Linked DNA regions of Homo sapiens: region 2 is linked to region 1. Evidence: promoter capture Hi-C in 16 types of primary human blood cells and fetal thymus (Javierre and others, 2016). All regions are on one chromosome and are shown on one strand. The core of a region is centred on a gene start or on the middle of the fragment in contact, and the rest is flanking DNA. Distances in the headings are between cores, read along the strand shown.

Evidence for each region. The method cuts DNA at HindIII sites, captures the fragments that hold promoters and counts their contacts. A CHiCAGO score of 5 or more calls a contact.
Region 2: a fragment that was not itself captured here is called in contact with the fragment with the promoter of AVIL in region 1 in 5 of 17 cell types (naive CD8 T cells, M0 macrophages, naive CD4 T cells and 2 more); the score reaches 6.1 in naive CD8 T cells.

The regions. Positions count from the first base shown.
Region 1 is chr12:57,816,917-57,821,548 of GRCh38, forward strand. It overlaps AVIL (advillin), which reads right to left and starts at 1,818. Exons shown (of 20, transcript NM_006576.4): 1 at 1,713-1,818. It overlaps CTDSP2 (CTD small phosphatase 2), which reads right to left. Exons shown (of 8, transcript NM_005730.4): 8 at 3,011-4,632. The HindIII fragment of the contact is 1,940 bases long and covers 1-1,940 here.
Region 2 is chr12:57,562,684-57,567,315 of GRCh38, forward strand. It overlaps KIF5A (kinesin family member 5A), which reads left to right. Exons shown (of 29, transcript NM_004984.4): 2 at 756-843; 3 at 937-1,010; 4 at 1,425-1,529; 5 at 1,777-1,825; 6 at 2,235-2,290; 7 at 4,443-4,530. Among named protein-coding and RNA genes, the nearest start is that of KIF5A, 15 kb to the left of the region's middle. RefSeq lists a silencer at 389-606. The HindIII fragment of the contact is 4,556 bases long and covers 1-4,408 here.

The DNA.
Region 1 (4,632 bases), core at 568-3,067:
AGCTTCTGTGTGGAAGCGTGAACCTCAGACACTTAGACGTCTCCAGTTCCTTCAGGATTGAGCAAGTCAGGGTGGGGAGAGGGGGGAAGTGGTAAAGATCTAAGTCTGTGTAGGTCGTGTACCATCTGTATTCAAGGAGCATCTTGGGTAATTAAGCACCTACCCATGTCCAAGGCCACGTAGAGGCTTTATAGAATTAAAATACCTGCTCTCAAGGAGCTTGAAATCTGATAACATGCATAATTAATGTAAAGCTAGATTAATTTCTCCCAAGAGGCAAAGGAAAAAGGATGGGGTTGATGGATTTATGTAAGATTTAAAAATTCACCCAGAAAGGACTGTATGCATTTTTGCTGTTTGGGGACATACTGTTTGTTAAGAGGAACATGTCTGACCATTGTTTTCTTGAACCTTGATGGACAAAGCCAAGTTTGGAGAGCATGCGCCATCTAGTATGGACTTTGGCAAAAAACCATAAAGCTCAAAGCAGACTCGCTTTGTCTACTGCTGTAGCAGGACTAAAGCAAGGCAATGGTGCGGAGCAGCCAGTGTTTGAGAATTTAATTTGATAACTTGTGCTGCCCCACCCTGTGCTGCTCAGAATTGCCAGGAAATATGGTGTTTGGGTTTTCTTCAGACCCTACGTAGCAGTCATTAAAGGCAAAAGCCATGAGCCAACTAGGGGAAGGGGACAAGGGCCACTGAATTCATTCCTTGGAGACAGAGAACTGTCACCCTGGTAAAAGCCAAACCAGCCGGCAGCAATTAGGACTGTGAGCCTCAGAGGCTGAAACCTGTCCCGTTTCCCAGCAGGAATTTAGGAATCAAGGAGCTCCCTGGGCCAGGCACCCCGAATGCGAGAGGATAAGCTCCAGGAAGGGACTTCCTGTCACACTGGAACACACAGAAAACACAGTTCTGACATCAAATCTCCCAAAGCTGGGTCTCTCCTTCTCCCTAAATCCTAATTCAGTATCCTTTGAGAGGACTGCAGAAACCCCTTGGGTGTGGGGCACAGTTTTGAAATGTCAGGTTAAAAGCCAGTGGCCTGTAATTCTCAGAGATGCCCTTTTGGACGGACCCTGAGCAGAGGAAGCTGTTTTTTGTTGTTGTTGTTTTTGAGACAGGGTCTTGCTCTGTCACCCAGGCTGGAGTGCAGTGGTACAATCACGGCTCACTGCAACCGCCACCTCCTGGGCTCAAGTGATCCTTCTGCCTCAGCCTCCTGAGAAGCTGAGACCACAGGTGTGCACCACCATGCTTGGCTTTTTTTTTTTTTTTTTTTTTTTTTTTTTTTGTAGAGACAGGGTCTCACTATGTTGCCCAGGATGGTCACAAGTTACAAACTCCTGGGCTCAAACAATCCTCATGCCCTGGCTTCCCAAAGTGTTGGGATTACAGGTGTAAGCCACCTCTCTGGGCCAGGAAGCTGGTTTTAACTCCTCCTGCCTTGCTCCATACCATCTTTCTCTAGGGATAGGTGAAAGGGGTCTGTCTTTCCCAGCTTTTGAAAATGTGCCCTATATGTTCAGCTGCCTCTAAGGGGTTCTTCTGAACAAGAAGTTTGCAAAACTGGCCAGCCAGACTCCTGGTTCATTTTAAAAGCCTCATCTCAGAAGACAAAGCCAAGGGACTCTCAAGCTCCTCTTCCTTTCATTTCTTCCTCATTCAGGAGGATTAACTGGCATGCCCCCGTAAATCAGAGACCTTACCTTGCCTTCTCGCTCACCAGCCTTCCCAGTTTCCCGGCGCGTAAGCAGCAGCAGTATTGAAGAACCACTCCAAAGCAGGAGGCTCCAGGTCCTGCTGCCTTAGCTTAGTAATGGCCGCAGAGATACTGGGTTATATTTGCTTGTGTTTGCATCTTAACCGCATTTTCCTAGTCCTGGCCAATCAGAGCCAACCTAGCACTGAGCTTGGCTTATTCAAACCAGAGGGAAAGCTTTATCTGTGCCTATTCAAAACAGCAAAACAGAAGAGCAGACTTTTAAAGGCTTCTTTGAACTCCAGCTCCACGCCCTGATCTAATTGATTTTTTAAAAAGTGCACACAGCCCATCAATAATGCAGGAAAGAGGTTGGAAGGATATGAAATTTGCCATATTGTAGATATGGATGCATTATGGTGATGACAGGAGGAAGAGGCTGGAGCTGCCCCATGAGTGCCTGTGATGTCTAGGTTGGCAAGAGCCTCCCTAAGAAGCTTCTGGCATTTCTCAAAGGGAGGGGAAGTCTGGGAGAGGAGCCAGAATTTTATTAGGCCACAGTTTTGCTCGTTGGGGTCTCTACTAGTCATACAGTAAACCAATCAATATTTGAGTGCCTGCTGTTTGCCAGGAACCATGCTGGGCTCTCAGCTTCAGGGTTTCCAGTTTGGAAGAATCAGTGAGGGGCAGAGAAGAATCAAGACTCCATTCCCAGGGCTGGGTGTGGTGGTGGCTCACGCCTGTAATCCCAGCACTTTGGGAGGCTGAGGTGGGTGGATCACAATGTGAGGAGTTTGAAAACAGCCTGGCCAAGATGGTGAAACCCCATCTCTACTAAAAATACAAAAATGAGCCGGGCGTGCTGGCAGGCGCCTGTAATCCCAGCTACTCAGGAGACTGAGGCAGGAGAATCGCTTGAACCTGGGAGGTGGAGGTTGCAGTGAGCTGAGATCATGCCACTGCCTCTAGCCTGGGCAACAGAGCAAGACTCCATTTCAAAAAAAAAAAAAAAAATAATAATCCATTCCCTTAGGGCTTCTGGTTCATGCCCAGAAGTCAATAGGACATCAAGCATATACACGTGCTAAGCACCTGACTGCAATGGGGTTGATCACAGCAGAACTTGTGTAACCTTGAGCGGAAGCCCTGTGTGGCATCTGCAGCTGGCCTCCCGGTGGGTGCAACACCCCACTCAGCCCGGGGGTGCAGCTGCTTCATGATGGAAGGGGTTGCGAGAAGAAAGGCGGTGCTTGCCATGGGCCCAGTGAACACTTAAGGGCCAATGAAGGTTGGTGGCAGCTCACATTCCTGGAAAGGTTTTTTAAACCCACTTTTATTAATTAATTGTAAGTAATACAAATATTCCAAAAATATAAACAGACACTTAATGGCGTCCTGCATTTCAAGTTTTTGAATACAACAAATTTATCAAACCATGAATCTGTAAGCAAGGTAGTCAGAATCCCATAGCCCAGTCACAGTGGGAAGCAGATCCCCTACCCTCCAAATGGCATCTTGAAGGGGGAAAGCGGCACGAAATGGAACATGATAAGCAAAAAAGCTCACGAGGCCCAAAGAGGAGGGTCCGCTCCATGGGCAGGCCCTACAACGTTAAAAGAATGGGGCAGCTGGCCCGACCTCTGGCCTCCTCTTCCCTGGCTGAATGTAAATATTTACCAGCATTTAGAAAAAAGGAGAAAAAAGACAGAACTAAACCCGTTTAGGAAAAAGGGACCGAGGGACAGCAGTGGTTAAGTAATCCACTGAGGACCTGAAGGGGAAAATGGACTTACCTTTCTCATATACTTGGCCTGGCTAGGACACTGGGTGCCAGACAGCCTTCTGAGGGGATTTTCTTTCTAAATGAGGCCTCAGGAACAGGTAGGGGCAGCAGAATAGAATAGCATCCATTTCCCAGAGAAAGACTGCCTTTACATTTCCCATGCTTTTAGCACAAAGCAGCGTCTGGGCCACTGTTACCAGAGGTGAGTTTATACATTTACAAAATGCTTAAAATCTTTGGGAAGCAAGAGGAAGCTAAACAGAAGGTCCCATGTTAACTGAAGGCAAATTCACTCAACCTCTCTAGTAAGGGACCCATGGGCCTACAGAGTGTTCCCTCTACAATGTGCAGAGTGGAAACCCTTACCTGACCCTTTTCCAAACTGGTCCTGTGTCCAAAGCTCCCCCTATGAGAGGGACACGAACATCAGGCTTTTGATTTAGAAGCCCAATCAGAGAGACACACTGTGTCCCTGAAGAGGCACCTTAAAAGAACTGAACCTGGCAGGTAGGCAGATTCCTGGCATGGCTTGAATTGGTGCTGACCAGGCATGGTGGCCTATTGCCTCCCAAAGACCAGTCTCAAGTGGGAGGGGCTGATGGTGGGAAGCCCTAGAAGAGAGTCTGGGATGAAGCGGCCTCCTCCCTGTCTTGCCCTCCAAAATTGAGTCTGGCCTGATTCCTTTGAGGAGCAAATTTTACAATCATCCCTCACCCTAACACACGGTGAAACTGGAAACCCGACAGCAAATAATGACTAGGCTGGCTCTGGTCCACAAGAACAGACCCTGGCTAGGTTTGGCCGAGTAGCTTCTCTGGGGCAAGTGGGAATGGCATTGTTGGGGGGGAGTTGCAGGTGGGCAGGCAGGGTTCTGATGGGAGTGAGGCCTAAAAAGCAGGGGCTTCATGCAGATGCAGCAGGGACACTCCCACCAAGCCATCCTGGGCTTTGGTCATGGGTCCCACGCCAAGCACTTGGACAAGTCTGTTAGGAAAGGGGGTGGCACATGCTCTTCCGCCATCTGGAAAAACATGGAGATCCAAGGGAGGGCGGAAAGGGTCCTTGCAACTCAGTCAGCTTAGAGCCTCTTATTGCTTATTTAGTCAGAAAAGCCTGGCTGGGCCTAGACGGCAAAAGATTTGGC
Region 2 (4,632 bases), core at 881-3,380, 250 kb before region 1:
GTCACTAACTTTGCATCTTTCACTTAGTACATCTAAAGATCTTTCCATATCAGGGTACGTGGATCTGTTGAGGAAGATATTTCTAGCTTGAGATACTTTTTAGTGTTAATGAATTGTTCTTCAATTTTCATCACCTGTGGCCCTATTGTCTTTTTTCATCTGGTTTCCCAGGGAGGAGTTTGGGGTAGTGGAGTGCTCAATCATCACACCACGACTAAGATCCCCTAACACAATCTCACTGTGCGACACTCCTCTACCCCACAGACACAACTCCTGGCATCAGTACCTTTAGTTTCTCTTATTCTCCCACATTTCTTTTCTTTTCTTCTTCTTTTTTTTTTTGAGATGGAGTCTCGCTCTATCGCCAGGCTGGAGTGCAGTGGCGCAATCTCGGCTCACTGCAACCTCTGCCTCTCGGGTTCAAGCGATTCTCCTGTCTCTGCCTCCCGAGTAGCTGGGACTACAGGCACGTGCCACCACACCAGGCTAATTTTTGTATTTTTAGTAGAGACGGGGTTTCACCATATTGGTCAGGCTGGTCTTGAACTCCTGACCTCGTGATCCGCCTGCCTCAGCCTCTTAAAATGATGGGATTACAGGTGTGAGCCACCACGCCCGGCCATTCTCCCACATTTCTGTTCATTAAGGGCATTGAAGAAAAGGGTGCCTTTCTCAGCTGCTGGAAGGAGGTTGTGGTATTTCTTTTCCCTCACATCCTGCCTGTTGACGTCTGATATCTTTTATTTTCATTCCAGGGGAAGCCATATGTTTTTGACCGTGTATTCCCCCCAAACACGACTCAAGAGCAAGTTTATCATGCATGTGCCATGCAGATTGTCAAAGGTAATAGATTTCTTTTTAGAATGTCTCTTCTCAGCACCCCATTTCCTACCCGACCTATCTCCACCAGTACTCTTTCTCTACTGTCTCTTCCAGATGTCCTTGCTGGCTACAATGGCACCATTTTTGCTTATGGACAGACATCCTCAGGGAAAACACATACCATGGAGGTGAGGGTTCTGGCTTTGGTGGTTGAGGGGCTAGGAGTGTTAATGGAAGATCAGGGAATCTCAGTGGGGGAAGGTCTAGGAATCAAGGATTGCCTGGTCCAGAGGCAGATAGATGAGTACAGAGGATGAACTGAAGGGCAATATTAGGGGAAGTTTAATGGAATCCCTCCAACCCACTGCAGTGGATCATCCTTTCCACTACTCCAGTCTTCTTTTGATCGGGAAAAGCAATGGAAGTCCAAAGGGCTACTCAATTATCTCCTTGCTCCTCTAAAAGGCAGACATGGTGGTGACCATCTCCTAACTTAGGATGTTCTTCTTATTGACTCTTGCCTTGGTGTTCACCTGCATACATCTGAGTTGTCTCATTCTCCCTGAGCCCCAGCTTCACTCTCAAATACCTTCACTCGCCAGGGAAAGCTGCACGACCCTCAGCTGATGGGAATCATTCCTCGAATTGCCCGAGACATCTTCAACCACATCTACTCCATGGATGAGAACCTTGAGTTCCACATCAAGGTGACCAGGGCACGACAGCTGGGCATTCAGATGGGGACTGGGAGGGGAAGATCTAAAATCTTCCCACTGAAGAGCCTGGGCTCCCCAACTTGACTCCCTTTCCGGTTACCAGAGTTCTTTGTCAAGATGTTCTCTTCTGTTCTTTTCCTCCCACCACCGTTTGAGCAGGTCACATTAGTATGGGATTCCTGAACTAGATTTAAGATAGGCCCTCTTTACTTCACACTCCTTCTTTCTTCTTAACCAGGTTTCTTACTTTGAAATTTACCTGGACAAAATTCGTGACCTTCTGGATGGTGAGTGTTTTGTCCCAGTGGATGAGGGTGTGTGAGGAGGGTGGAGAAAAGAAAGCTCACATTGCATTTGGAATTAGGTACCAATTGACAAGAGATGCAGAGGGCACACAGCACCCAAGTCTTTTGGCCCCGTTTACCAGAATTTCCAAAAACTGAGAAGGTCAGGAGATGAGCTTAGCAGCCAAGGACTACATATAAACAGTTCGAGAGGATCTGGGGCCGAGGAGCAGGAGCCCTGAGGAGGAGAAGGAGGAGGAACTGAGCCTTCAGCTCGTGCAGGGAGTTTAGGCTTCACAGGGAGAGTCTTCCTTTAGCACAGAGAAGAAAACCACCATCTGAGCTGACTGCAAGGTGCAGATGGGGGCGGTGGAAGTACTAGTCTTGCTTACCCTGCATTCTTTTGATTCAGTGACCAAGACAAATCTGTCCGTGCACGAGGACAAGAACCGGGTGCCATTTGTCAAGGTGAGAGTGGGTGTGGGGCACCTATGTGGGGCCAGTGTATTGAGAATGTTGGTGGGGGAGGAGCATAGGTCAGTGACCCTGAAGTTGGAGGGTGGATATCCTGGAGGAATGAGATGTGCCTAGGGGCCAGGGAGAGTCTAGGGGATCAGAAAAGATACTGTCTTGGCTGGGCATGGTGGCTCATACCTGTAATCCCAGCACTTTGGGAGGCTGAGGTGGGTGGATCACTTGAGGCCGGGAGTTCAAGACCAGCCTGGCCAATATAGTGAAACCCCGTTTCTACTAAAAATACAAAAAATTAACTGGGCGTGGTGGCACATGCTTGTAATCCCAGCTATTTGGGACACTGAAGCAGGAGAATCTCTTGAACCTGGGAGGCAGAGGTTGCGGTGAGCCGAGATTGCGCCACTGCACTCCAGCCTGGGCGACAGAGTGAGAACCTGTCTTTAAAAAAAAAGAAGAAAAGAAAAGATACTGTCTTGAAAGGTCATTGGTCAGTGTGCATGCAATTTAATTTGCAAATCAAAGTTTACTGGAAGAAATGCCTGTAATCCCAACACTTTAGAAGGCTGAGGTGGGAGGATCACTTGAGGAGTTCAAGATCAGCCTGGCCAACATAGCAAGACCCGTCTCTCTTATTTAATCTAATTTTTTTTTTTTTTTTTTTTGGAGACAGAGTCTCACTCTGTTGCCCAGGCTGGAGTGCAGTGGCTCGACCTAGGGTCACTGCAACCTCCCTGTCCTGGGTTCAAACGATTCTCCTGCGTCAGGCTCCCGAGTAGCTGGGACTACAGGCATGTGCCACCACGCCTGGCTGATTTTAGTATTTTTAGTAGAGACGGGGTTTCACCATGTTGGCCAGGCTGGTCTCTAATTCCTGACCTCAGGTGATCCACCTGCCTCAGCCTCCCAAAGTGCTGGAATTACAGGCATGAGCCACTATGCTGAGTCTCTTGTTTAAAAAAAAAAAAAAATTTTTGTCAGGCATGGTGGCACACACCTGTAGTCCCAGCTACTCAGGAGGCTGAGGCGGGAGAATTGCTTGAGCTCAAGAGTTTGAGGTTGCAGTGAGCCATGATAGTGCCACTGCACTCCAGCCTGTGTAGTAGAGAGACAGTGGTTTTTTTTGTTTGTTTGTTTTTGTTTTTGGAGACAGATTCTCACTCTGTCACCCAGGCTGTAGTGCAATGGCATGATCTTGGCTCACTGCAACCTCTGCCTCCTGGGTTCAAGTGATTCTCCTGCCTCAGCCTCCCAAGCATATGGGATTATAGGTGCCTGCCACCAGGCCCACTTATTTTTGTATTTTTAGTAGAGATGGGGTTTCACCATGTTAGCCAGGCTAGTCTCGAACTCCTGACCTCAGGTGATCCGCCCACCTCAGCCTCCCAGTGTGCTGGCATTACAGGCATAAGCCACTGCACCTGGCTGCGACAGTGTTTTTTTTTTTTTGAGACAGAGTTTCTCTCTTGTTGCCCAGGCTGGGGTACAGTGGCGCCCGATCTTGGCTTACTGCAACCTCAGCCTCCCGAGTTCAAGTGATTCTCCTGCCTCAGCCTCCTGAGTAGCTGGAATTACAGGCATGTGCCACCACGTCTGGCTAATTTTGTATTTTTAGTGGAGATGGGATTTTGCCATGTTGGCCAGGCTGGTCACGAACTCCTGACCTCAGGTGATCCACCCACATTGGCCTCCCAAACCAAAGTGCTGGGATTACAGGCGTGAGCCACCATGCCCGCCACTGTTTCAAAAAAGTAGTAAATACGTAAGATAAAAATAAATACAAAGCAGGGCATGGTGGCTCAAGCCTGTAATCCCAGCACTTTGGGAGGCCAAGGCAGGCGGATCACGAGGTCAGGACTTTGAGACCAGCCTGACCAACATGGTGAAACCCCGTCTCTACTAAAAATACAAAAATTAGCCGGGCGTGTTGGCTCATGCCTGTAATCCCAGCTACTCTGGAGGCTGAGGCAAGAGAATCGCTTGAACCTGGGAGGTGGAGGTTGCAGTGAGCTGAGATTCTTGACACTGCACTCCAGCCTGGGCAGAGCGAGACTCCATCTCAAAAGAAAATAATAATAATAAAAATAAATAAATAAATACAAACTTAAAAAACAAAGCTTATGGGTCACTGTCCATTTGTCCCCCACAGGGTTGTACTGAACGCTTTGTGTCCAGCCCGGAGGAGATTCTGGATGTGATTGATGAAGGGAAATCAAATCGTCATGTGGCTGTCACCAGTGAGTGAGGATACAAGGGGATCTCTCGAGTCTGAGGATCCACTTGTGTTCTGTGTCCTCTGGGGTGGAGGGACTCAAAAGTGAGCAAGGAAACTGTACCCC